Regions from separate parts of the Homo sapiens genome. Here regions 1, 2 and 3 are each linked to region 4. The links are contacts of gene promoters, found by promoter capture Hi-C in blood cells and fetal thymus (Javierre and others, 2016). All regions are on one chromosome and are shown on one strand. The core of a region is centred on a gene start or on the middle of the fragment in contact, and the rest is flanking DNA. Distances in the headings are between cores, read along the strand shown.

Evidence for each region. The method cuts DNA at HindIII sites, captures the fragments that hold promoters and counts their contacts. A CHiCAGO score of 5 or more calls a contact.
Region 1: a fragment that was not itself captured here is called in contact with the fragment with the promoter of IPPK in region 4 in 1 of 17 cell types (M0 macrophages); the score reaches 5.7 in M0 macrophages.
Region 2: a fragment that was not itself captured here is called in contact with the fragment with the promoter of IPPK in region 4 in 1 of 17 cell types (megakaryocytes); the score reaches 5.0 in megakaryocytes.
Region 3: a contact is called between a fragment that was not itself captured here and the fragment with the promoter of IPPK in region 4, in 2 of 17 cell types (megakaryocytes and endothelial precursors). The highest score is 9.3, in megakaryocytes.

Annotation. Positions count from the first base shown.
Region 1 is chr9:92,350,079-92,352,778 of GRCh38, reverse strand. The region is part of intron 4 of CENPP (centromere protein P); the gene reads right to left. Among named protein-coding and RNA genes, the nearest start is that of CENPP, 25 kb to the right of the region's middle. The HindIII fragment of the contact is 1,090 bases long and covers 726-1,815 here.
Region 2 is chr9:92,176,469-92,179,168 of GRCh38, reverse strand. It overlaps the pseudogene PRSS47P. Among named protein-coding and RNA genes, the nearest start is that of LINC00475, 36 kb to the right of the region's middle. The HindIII fragment of the contact is 1,603 bases long and covers 547-2,149 here.
Region 3 is chr9:92,275,381-92,278,129 of GRCh38, reverse strand. It overlaps IARS1 (isoleucyl-tRNA synthetase 1), which reads left to right. Exons shown (of 34, transcript NM_002161.6): 9 at 207-267. Among named protein-coding and RNA genes, the nearest start is that of MIR3651, 16 kb to the left of the region's middle. The HindIII fragment of the contact is 1,968 bases long and covers 275-2,242 here.
Region 4 is chr9:92,668,757-92,671,456 of GRCh38, reverse strand. IPPK (inositol-pentakisphosphate 2-kinase) reads left to right here and starts at 1,326. Exons shown (of 13, transcript NM_022755.6): 1 at 1,326-1,549. The coding sequence starts at 1,469. LOC107987095 (a long non-coding RNA gene) reads right to left here and starts at 1,095. Exons shown (of 2, transcript XR_001746837.2): 1 at 784-1,095. RefSeq lists enhancers at 1-50, 805-854, 865-1,314, 2,055-2,224 and a silencer at 1,355-1,534. The HindIII fragment of the contact is 1,551 bases long and covers 1,151-2,700 here.

The DNA of each region.
Region 1 (2,700 bases), core at 21-2,520, 320 kb after region 4:
TATCTAATCAGCTGCCAGTGAATATAGAGCAGGCAGAAACACATGAAAAGGTTAGACTGGCCTAGCCTCCCAGCCTACATTTTTCTCCTGTGGTGGATGCTTCCTGTCCTTGAACACTGAATTCCAAGTTTTTCAGTTTTGGAACTCAGGCTGGCTCTCCTTGCTCCTCAGCCTGCAGACGGCCTATTACGGGACCTTGTGATCATGTGAGTTAATATTTAATAAACTCCCCGTTATATTATATATATATATATATATATATATATATGTATACACACACACACACACACACACACACACACACACACACAGGCTTTAAGCAACAGGCTTGAGAGAAAAGGCCCTGTCTTCTCTCAATGGGACAGATTCACAGAACTATCTTAGTTTTTTTTGGTTTTGGTTTTGTTTTTTCAGATGATGTCTTGCTCTGTCACCCAGAGGAGTGCAGTGGCACAATCTTGGTTCACTGCAACCTCCGCCTCCCCGGTTCAAGCGATTTTCGTGCCTCAGCCTCCCGAGTGGCTGGGGATACAGGCGCCCACCACCACACTCAGCTAATTTTTGTATTTTTAGTATAGACAGGGTTTCTCCATGTTTGCCAGGCTTGTCTCTAACTCCTGACCTCAGGTGATGTGCCCACCTTGGCCTCCCAACATGCTGGGATTGCAGGTATGAGCCACTGTGCATGGCCAGGACTATCTTATATAGATGGTGCAAATAAAGCTTGTGTGGTGCTTAAAAAAAAAAAAAAAAAAGGAAAAGAAAAAGAAAAAGAAATTCTGACTTATGCCACATGGATGAACCTTGACAACATTACACTCAGCGAAATAAACCAGTCAAAAAAGGCAAATACTGGCCAGGCACAGTGGCTCACGCCTGTAATCCCAGCACTTTGGGAGGCCGAGATGGCTAGATCACCTGAGGTCAGGAATTCAAGACCAGCCTGGCCAATATGGCAAAACCCCTTCTCTACTAAAAATATAAAAATTAGCTGGGCATGGTAGCGGGTGCCTGTAATCCCAGCTACTTGGGAGGCTGAGGCAGGAGAATCCCTGGTGAGGTAGAGGTTACAGTGAGCAGAGATCACACCACTGCACGCCTGCCTGGGCGACAGAGCGAGACTCCATCTAAAGAAAAAAGGCAAATACTGTATGATTCTACTTATATGAGGTACTTAGATTAATACTTAGATAGTATTAATCAAAATCACACAGACAAAAAGTAGAATGGTGGATGAGGAGAGGGAGGAAGTGGGAGTTATTGTTTATGGGTACAAAGTTTCTGGTTTTTTTTTTTTTTTTTTGAGATAGTCTCACTCTGTCACCCAGGCTGGAGTGTAGTGGTGCTCTCGGCTCACCACAACCTCCGCCTCCCAGGTTCAAGCGATTCTCCTGCCTCAGCCTCCCAAGTAGCTGGGACTACAGTCACGTGCCACCATGCCCAGCTAGTTTTTGTATTTTTAGTAGAGACAGGGTTTCACCATGCTGGATTTGAACTCCTGACCTCATGATCCACCCGCCTCAGCCTCCCAAAGTGCTGGGATTATAGGCGTGAGCCACCACACCTGGCCAAAGTTTCTGTTTTAAAAGAGGAAAGAGTTATGTTGACAGATAGTGGTGATGGTTGTACAACATAATGAATGTATTTACTATTATTGAAGTGTACTCTTTAACATGGTTGAGTTGGTAGATTTTGTAAGTATTTTGCCACAGTAAAAAAATAGGAAAACAAGTTAAATAATCTAAAAGAAGGCAAGAAAGGGTGTTAGTAGGTGTTAGTTCACACCTACTCATTTTTCAGATGTCAGCTCAAGCTTCAGGAAATGATTTCATGTTCTCTGTGCTAGTCTAATTCCTGATAAACACTTTGGGAGGCTAAGGCAAGAGGACTGCTTGAGCCTAGGAGTTTGAGACCAGCCTGGGCAATAGTGAACAAAAAAACCAAGTAGATTCACTGAAAACAAAGAACATAAAATAATAGCTGAATTAACACAAAGCTGCATAAGCATGTAGTTTATAGGGAACACTGGAGATTATGTGTTAAAAGTCAGTCTAATAACTATTTTAAAAATTATTTAAACATCTGAAAAAAATTGTTTTCCAAAAAGTATGGGCCTACAAAGAGGAGAAATTAGTTCATTCACGCTTAAAGGCCACAGTGACACGATATTTCGTTCTCCATCAAACAAGTGAGCAAAAAAATAAACTCTTAATCATGTGATGAGGGAGTAAGCCATGAAAATAATCTTAAAAGCTATGATGACTCAAGTTTAAACACATACACACAGAAGAAAAGACTGTTCTTTTACAATGAACTTTAAAAAATTCACAATTCCTTTATTCTTCCATTTGCATCTTCATAAAGGATACTGTACTACAGCACATAAGAGTTTTCCATATAGAAAGAAATTTTGTGTGTGGGTGTGGGTGTTGGCTCTCACAGCTGTAAGAATGACTGTAATTTATCTATTTTTCCTAAGCAAAGTCCAAACTTCACTAAACGTAAAACAGATGTCATGGATTTCTTTCATAAAATGTTGGCAGTAACCCATTTCAATTTCAGCTAAAGTAGTCAGGAAACAAAAATAACTCCAAATGTCTCCTTCTCAAGTATAAAGCGAACACAAAGAGAAATTTAGGATAAAGATTCCAAAATTTTATTCTAACAATAAATTCCTGGGACTATTACATCTAAAATTAG
Region 2 (2,700 bases), core at 99-2,598, 490 kb after region 4:
AATCTATCACACGTGGACCCACCCTCTGCCTTCCACACCCAGGACAACACACTGCTTGAAGCCTAGAAGGAACAGCTGTATGTACAGGGCCTGAGAGGGGCTGGGCCCTTCCGGCCTCTCAGTGCTGGAGACCCCAGAGCCGAGTTCTTAGCCTTCTTCCTTTTGTCTCCACTCCTTTTCCCTGGTTGGTAAGAAAAGGCCAGAGTCCACAAGTCCTTTGGCTCCTCCTTCAAAATACCATCCCAAATCTGACCATTTCTTCCCTCCTGTAGTTTCCTCCCTGGTCCCTCCTCTCTACCTGGTGCTCAGCAACTTCTTTCTCTACATGGCACCAGACTGATGGTTTAAACAGGTCACGTGTCCCCCACCCTCCAGCATACAGTTCTCCAAGTTGCCCCTCTGCAGCTCTGAGACCTCCCTCTGCCCCCTCACTCCCTCCCACAAGGTTTGCCCCATCCTCTCCTGGTTTGCGCCAACTGGGCCCTCTCTTCTGGACCTCGCAGAAGTAGGTTCTGTTTCCTATTTGAGTGTAAGGTCAGGAAAGCTTGTTGTGATCCATGGATACGAAATGTCCTCCCGCTTCCATAGGGTCAGTTGGCTTATTTATCTATGCACCATGGGGGACAGGGTTTGTCTTTTCCCCGTGTTTCCCAAGAGCAGTGCCTGCACTGGATGCCCCAGGTGCACCCTGGACTAGTGGGCGGAAGAGCCGGCTGTGGGCCCTGCCTCCCACCACCCTGAAGATGAGACCCTTTCTTTTTTCCCTCCCTTCCTTCCTTCCTTCCTTCTTTCCTTTTTTTTGAAGGAGTCTCGCTCTGTTGCCAGGCTGGAGTGTAGTGGCATGATCTTGGCTCACTGGAACCTCCGCCTCCTGGGTTCAAGCGATTCTCCTGCCTCGGCCTCCCGAGTAGCTGGGAGTACAGGTACACGCCACCATGCCCAGCTAATTTTTGTATTTTTAGTAGAGACAGGGCTTCACCATGTTGGCCAGGATGGTCTCAATCTCTTGACCTCGTGATCCGCCTGCCTCAGCCTCCCAAAGTGCTGTGATTACAGGTGTGAGTTACCGTGCCCAGCTGAGACCCTTTCTTTGGGTCTCACTTTTTGGCCCATGATATAGGGGGCTTTCAACTGCATGATCCCACCCTGACAGCATTTCAGGACTCCAGTAACTCCAAGCAACTTTCTGGAGACCCCTGCCTGCTTCCCTAGTGATGTGGGCTGTCTCCACAGGGCCTGGGCATGGGCACTTTCTAAAGATACTTTACCAAAAAGTTGAGAGAAAACCAAAGGCCTAAATGAACAAAAAAGGACGGGGCGCCCAGAGGGGATGTTCTGCTGCAGCTTAGGGTTCACAAGAGCTGCGCTCTGCACAGAGGTTTCAGCTGGCTGTGCTTTGCTAGCAGGCCCAGCGCCTCTCAGGCCCTGTACATACAGCTGTCCCCTCTAGGCTTCAAGCAGTGTGTTGTCCTGGGTGTAGAGGGCAGAGGGTGGGTTCACGTGTTGGTAGATTCAGATCTATGATTGTCCACTCTGAGGGTCAGCTCAGGAGCTTGATGCCTGGAGATTTCCATCTGGTGGGTCTGCAGCGGGACCCTGACTCAGAGAGCAGAGGCGCAGAACGTCCGACCTTGCCACCTGGTGTCTCAGACACACTCATCCCCCAAAGCTAACTCCTCTTTCTTTGTTCTCAGGGCGATTCTGGGGGGCCTCTAGTCTGCTACCTCCCCAGTGCCTGGGTCCTGGTGGGGCTGGCCAGCTGGGGCCTGGACTGCCGGCATCCTGCCTACCCCAGCATCTTCACCAGGGTCACCTACTTCATCAACTGGATTGACAAAATCATGAGGCTCACTCCTCTTTCTGACCCCGCGCTGGCTCCTCACACCTGCTCTCCACCCAAGCCTCTGAGGGCTGCTGGCCTGCCTGGGCCCTGCGCAGCCCTTGTGCTGCCACAGACCTGGCTCCTGCTGCCACTTACCCTCAGGGCCCCATGGCAGACCCTGTGATGACCGCAGAGCCCCTCGACCCCTTCTCTCTGCTCGGCCTAGGTGTCCATGCTTGACCCTCCCTCTCCCTAGCCCACTGTCCCTCTAAATGGTTCCTAATCCTGGCTTTTCTGCCTATCAACTGCCATTCCCCAAACCAAGCTTGGCAACACAAAACCAAACCCAACAAAAGAGTCATCTGCTCCTCCTCCACCCCGCACGGCCCTCCAAGGCCCCTCCTGCTCCTTAGTGCTTGCCCTTTCCATAGGATTCATTGTCTGACTCCCAGGGCAGGAACCTGGGACCTCACACAAAGAATCTCAACTGTGGGCTCCTAGGAGGAAAGCAGGGGTAGGGGGGACACTAGGGGTGCTGAGGGAGCTGAGGCCGCCAGCTGGGAGGGAGTGGGGTCAGTCTGCACTCAACGTTGCTCCTGCCACAGGAAGCACCCAGGCCTTCAGAGGAGCTGAAACTACACCTGGTGTCCACAGTGTCAGGGAGCAAGGGCTTCTCTGAAGTACAGGAACAGCGCTCCTGGGGCGTGGAGGAGGGAGGTTCGACTCCCAGTGGAGACGGAAAAAGGGAAGTGGCTGGTGCACAAAGTAATTGAGCAGGACTGGGGAACAGGATCCCAGCCATGAGAAGAGGGTTCCAGCCTGCAGCTAGAGTGCTTTCAAAACATGAGGGTCTGGGAAAGACTGACAGAAGCAGATGG
Region 3 (2,749 bases), core at 9-2,508, 390 kb after region 4:
AAATAAACTTTGTTATCCAAAAGCTTGCATTATTCAAATTTAGTTTTAAGTACTAATACTATACTAAGTACTTTGCAGTCACACATTACAGCATGAATGGCTAGGGCTAAGAAGCCAGTAAACCAGAGGGGAGTGGTAGCTTGATGTGGCTGCAGCCTCATATTTGATTTTAATCTAATTGTGAGTTTGCCTTTCTCCTTTTCTAGATTTCCTGGTGCCTATCTTAAAGGCAAGAAGTACAGGCCCCTGTTTGACTATTTCCTGAAGGTAAGCTTAGGGACCGCTACTGTGGGCGCTCTCCACAATCTGATTATTTGATAGCTGGGGTGTTGTGAGAAGTGGAATTGACATTACTTTTATGAGTGTACCTGAATCCAGAAAGTCTGCTTTAGTACCAACAAAATTAAATTGTTTGTGTAGCTTTCTTGTCTTAGAGGATTTTTTTTTTTTTTTTTAAAAACAGGGTTTCCTCTGTCCCCCAGGCTGGAGTGCAGTGGCACAATCACAGCTCACTGCAACCTCGACCTCTTGGGCTCAAGTGATTCCCCTGCCCCATCCCGAGTAGCTGGGACTACTGGCACACAGCACCACACCGGGCTAAGTTTTTAGTTTTTTGTAGAGACAGAATCTCGCTATGCTGCCCAGGCTGGTCTTGAACTCCTGGAATTGCAAGCATGAGCCACTGCACCTGGCTGGGATTTTTTGTTGTTGTTGTTTTTGAGATGGAGTGCAAATATCGTGCAATAGCGCGATCTTGGCTGACTGCAACCTCTGCCCCCCAGGTTCAAGCAATTCTCCTGCCTCAGCCTCCCGAGCAGCTGGGATTACAGGCATGCTGTAATTTTTGTACTTTTTAGTAGAGATGGGGTTTCACCATCTTGGCCAGGCTGGTTTTGAACTCCTGACCTTGTGAGCCACCGTGCCTGGCCAAGCTGGGATTTTTTATTTGAATATTTTTCTCAAATTGTATGAGGAATCATTTTACATTTGATTGGATTTTTAGGTGTATATTTTTATTGCATGTAGTCTACATATCACCCAGGGTATTTATTGAGGTTTTTGTTTGTTTGTTTGTTTTGACAAAGTTAAGATAGTAATCACAGTAAAACATCATGTGGAAAGGTAAACACAATTTTATTTCAAGGAGGTTAATGAGGCAGGTGTTTTAAATCTAGGCACCACGACAGAGCTCATACATTTAGCACCTTAGTTTCTTCAGAGTCATAAAGTTGTTTTATGTGGTTTTATTTTCTGACAGTGGAGAATCCACAGCTACAGTTGCAAACCCTGCTGTCCCCACTCCCACACTCTCTCACCGAAAGAATAGTGTCAAAGAGGAATTTCTCCGTCCTTATTTAAAGGTCTTGAAATGAGATAATGAGCAGACCTGGCCTTATGTGGAAATAATAATCAACTGGACATATCACTTACGTCCCATCCCAGAAAAAAATGTTCGCTGAACCCTCAGTTGTTTCTGTTCCGTGTGGGGAGAGTCTGGTTGATTAAGGAGACCTCTGTGGTTTGGGCCCTATCCATGGTGTGTCTGTTACCTGCCTTTTCACTTTTGTGCCTCTTGAGTGTTTTCCCACATTTCTCGTTGCCTACTTGATAGCCTTCTTCCTCCTCCCACGTTGCTGCCCAGTGGATTTCCATATGTTCTGCCCTCATCCCATTCCTCCCTACAGGCGTTAGTTATTTACCAGCAATTAGGACGTGCCCTCCCCAGTCGGTATGTGGCAGAGCTGCTTCCTGACCACATCCTCCCACATTACTTTAGACATATCCTTTATTCAGTCAAACTGGCTCTTCCCTTTCCTGCTTCCCTGCCTTTCTTTAATTAAGTTTTCCTACTGTCTTAAAAGTCTTTATTTTTTTCTTATGTTGATATCTGCTGAGTTAACTCACCCTTCAGGTCTGAACTCAGATGTCCTCTGAAAGTTTTCTGAAATGCATCTTTGGTTTCTCCCTTGGAAAAATGTCATTACTTCATTCCATTCTCCTATCATATAGCTTAACATACTTTGTTTTATGTTGTATTTTTTTTATTATCTGAAATCTCTTCCACTGGATCAGTGACTCTCACCTTTCTGAATCACAAAACCTATTGAGAACCCAAAAACTCAACCCCCTGAAAGAATGCACATGGATACACTAGACAGGAACTTTAGGTTAAGTAGAGGTCTGTCTGGAATATGCACTTGGTAGGTATTAAGTTGAATAACACCTACTCATTAAATAAGCTTCTTAAACTACCTGAAACCTTCGGTGACTTTAGGCAAGTACTATAAATCGTTTGACCCAGGACGGAATCATCTGATGTTCACTGAAATATACCTGTTGTGAAATATCGAGGGAAGCTGAGTCAGCGGACACTGCCTATGGAGCAGCACTGCTGCTCCTGGTGGTTGGTATCTACTGACCTGGGTGGAAGCAGCCCAGCCATGGCCTGGGTAGGCCCAAAGTAGACCCTGAGAGACAAGATGCAGTGACTTTGTCTATACTGCTTCTAAGTATAGAACATGTAACTAAGTATACATGTAATTCTAAGGACCCATGTATTCTGTCTTTCTGTTTAAACTATCGAAGTTTTAGCACCTATCATACTATAACTTCTAAAATGTTTCAAGGTGATTTAGGTTACAACAATTAAAATTTTATGGTTATTTTTCAAGTTTAGTTTTAAGTTCCAAAGAAACCGAGTGCTGTGATGTAATTGAAAATAACATTGTATTTGCAACCAGAAGACCTG
Region 4 (2,700 bases), core at 77-2,576:
TACAATTCCCAAGGCCTGGCAAGGTGCCCAGCCGTTCTCAAAGTTGGGTCTGCAGGTCCTCTCTTTGTGAACTACATAACTGCAGATGTTCTTCACAATGTGTATGTCAACCAATGCAATATATTGCAGCAGACCGAATGCCGAAGCACATGTGAGAACCTATTAGGTCAGATTTTAAAAAGATTTGCAAAAGTGTAAAACAATACCACTCCTTTATTTTGGTGGTGGGCGTGGAATGTAATGTTTACTTTTTTTTTTTTTTTTTTTTTTGAGATGGAGTCTCACTCTGTCGTCCACGCTGGAGTGCAATGGCGCGATCTTGGCTTACCGCAACCTCCGCCTCCTGGGTTCAAATGATTCTCTTGCCTCAGCCTCCGGAGTAGCTGGGATTACAGGCCTGCGCCACCATACCTGGCTCATTTTTGTATTTTTAGTAGAGACAGGGTTTCACCATGTTGGCCAGGCTGGTCTCAAACTCCTGACCTCAGGTGATACGCCCGCCTCAGCCTCCCAAAGTGCTGGGATTACAGGCGTGAGCTACCGCGCCCGGCTGTTTACTTTTAAACGAAACAACAAAAAACTTTAAAGCATTTTAACTTAGAATGTGGTAACATCGATAGCTGTAACCCACATTAGCAAAAGCTTGGGGCCCTCATTTTTATGAGTATAAAGTGGTCCTGAGACTACGAGTTTGGGAAATGCGGTAGCTCTACGAGGCGGTGCCATTCTTGCCGCCGCATCAGTGAATTTAGGAGAAGGAAGGTCGTTAGCCCTCTGCCTCACCGCCAAGCAGGAGCCTTGCGCTCCAACTGCGTCCCTCGAAGTCTTCAGGCAAAAGCGGGACTGGGGAGTCCAGTCCTGTGGCCCAGCCACATTTCCTCGCGTAGAACGTTGGACAATGTTTTCTACCTCACAGGACCATCCAAATGACTGCGTTAGGTATTCCCATGAAATGTACGATGAGTACACCCTATTCTACAGAAGCAAAAGCTGAGGCTCAGAGACGCCAAGAGGTTTGCTGGGGTCTCGCGACTAAGCGGTCCCAACACCCAGACACCCTGGCTACCCGGGGACTGCCGGTCACTACCGGGCGCCGAAAAGCCGCCGGCTCCTTCCGCCAGCTACACATCCGGCGCCGAGGCCGGAAGCTTCTCTTCCGGCTCCCAAGACCGCGTTCCGGAAATGAGTCGCTCTACCAGTACCTAAGATGGCCGCCGGCCCATCCACCGTCGCGATCGGTGTGAGGAAAGTGTCACGAACCCGGAATTGCCCGACTCCGTCATGGCAGGCGCCGGGGGCGTGGCTTCCGGCGGCCACAGCTTGCTAGTCGCCGCGGCGGGGTCGAGCGGGGGCGGCAGCTGACAGGCGCTCCTCCCCCGACCGCAGCGGCTGGTTCCCAGCGAGGCGGGCGGCCCCCAGCTCGCGTCCCCGAGTCCTAGCCCGCGAGGCGCCAGGGCTGCGCCTGGGCATGGAAGAGGGGAAGATGGACGAGAATGAATGGGGGTACCACGGAGAGGGCAATAAGAGCCTGGTGGTGGCCCACGCGCAGGTGAGCGGTGGACGTGCGGCGCAGGTCCGGTACCTCACTCCGACGGCCGGTATCACCCCGCCCCCATTATCCGTTTCCTCAACAGGGTCGGTTCCACGTCCCCCCAGTACCTTCCTCCTCCCCGGCCGGTCTCCGGAATTCCCCCACCCTCCAGCATCCCCCCCTACCGCTTGGGTTCCTCATCACCCCAGTATCCCCTCTCTACTGGGTCAGTCTCCCATTGCCCCAGATCCTTCTCCTGGCCGGTCTGTCGTCCCCTCAGTATTCCCGTTCCCCGTCAGAGTCAGTTCCACATCCCCCTCCCCGCCCCGTCGGTGCCGCGCTCAGCCTCACGCGGTGCCGCCTCCCGCCTGGATGCCCGCCGGACTGCCAGGCCGCAGTGGGGTGGAGGCTTGGTTGGGACGGAGGGCCCGGCCAGCACTGGAGGAAGAAGCAGAGTGCCCACAGTGCTGTTACTCTCAGCACCAAAAGAGTTCAGCCTCGTGAGACTACGGAATTGCTGTGCTGTTAATAGTAAGGGGATGTTGTCCACAGGTCCTCTTCTCAACCTTTTAGAATTTGAAGGCTTTCACCTGAATTCAACGAGGGTGAAAGTTTTAGAAACTGCAGTAAGATCTCGCAAAGGTGAATCCCAAGAGTGAAGCGTGTGGGTTTCTGTGAGGGCCCAGATCTCTCTGACCTTTTGCTGTCTGGTACAACCACGCAGGAATGTGGCCGGCTGGAACGGGGGAGGGGGGTGAGGGAGGCGAGGATAGGTGTCATGTAGGGAGGAGTTAGAGCATGGGTGTTAAAGGCACAGGAATCTCAGTGTCTACATTTGTGAAGTGGAACTAGTAGTAGAATTCACTTTGTGGGATTGTTGCAAAGACCAGTTACGCAGGAACCCATCAAGTTATGCTTAGCAAGTGATAATTGTCATCCCTTGGACAGATAAATAAAGTGAAAATCAGAGAGGTTAAGGGCATTGCCCGAGTCGAACAGCTTGTCAGGGATGATGTAGGCAGTGGAGTCCTGCCTTGCTTCTGTTGTTCCTATGCTGGGTGCATTGGTCAGCTGTAGTGTAAGCTGCAAACACCCAGGTAGCCCCTAGGTTGTGCCTTTGGATTTTGTTGCTCATTAGCACAGGGAACTAAAGAACAGAGACTACAAGC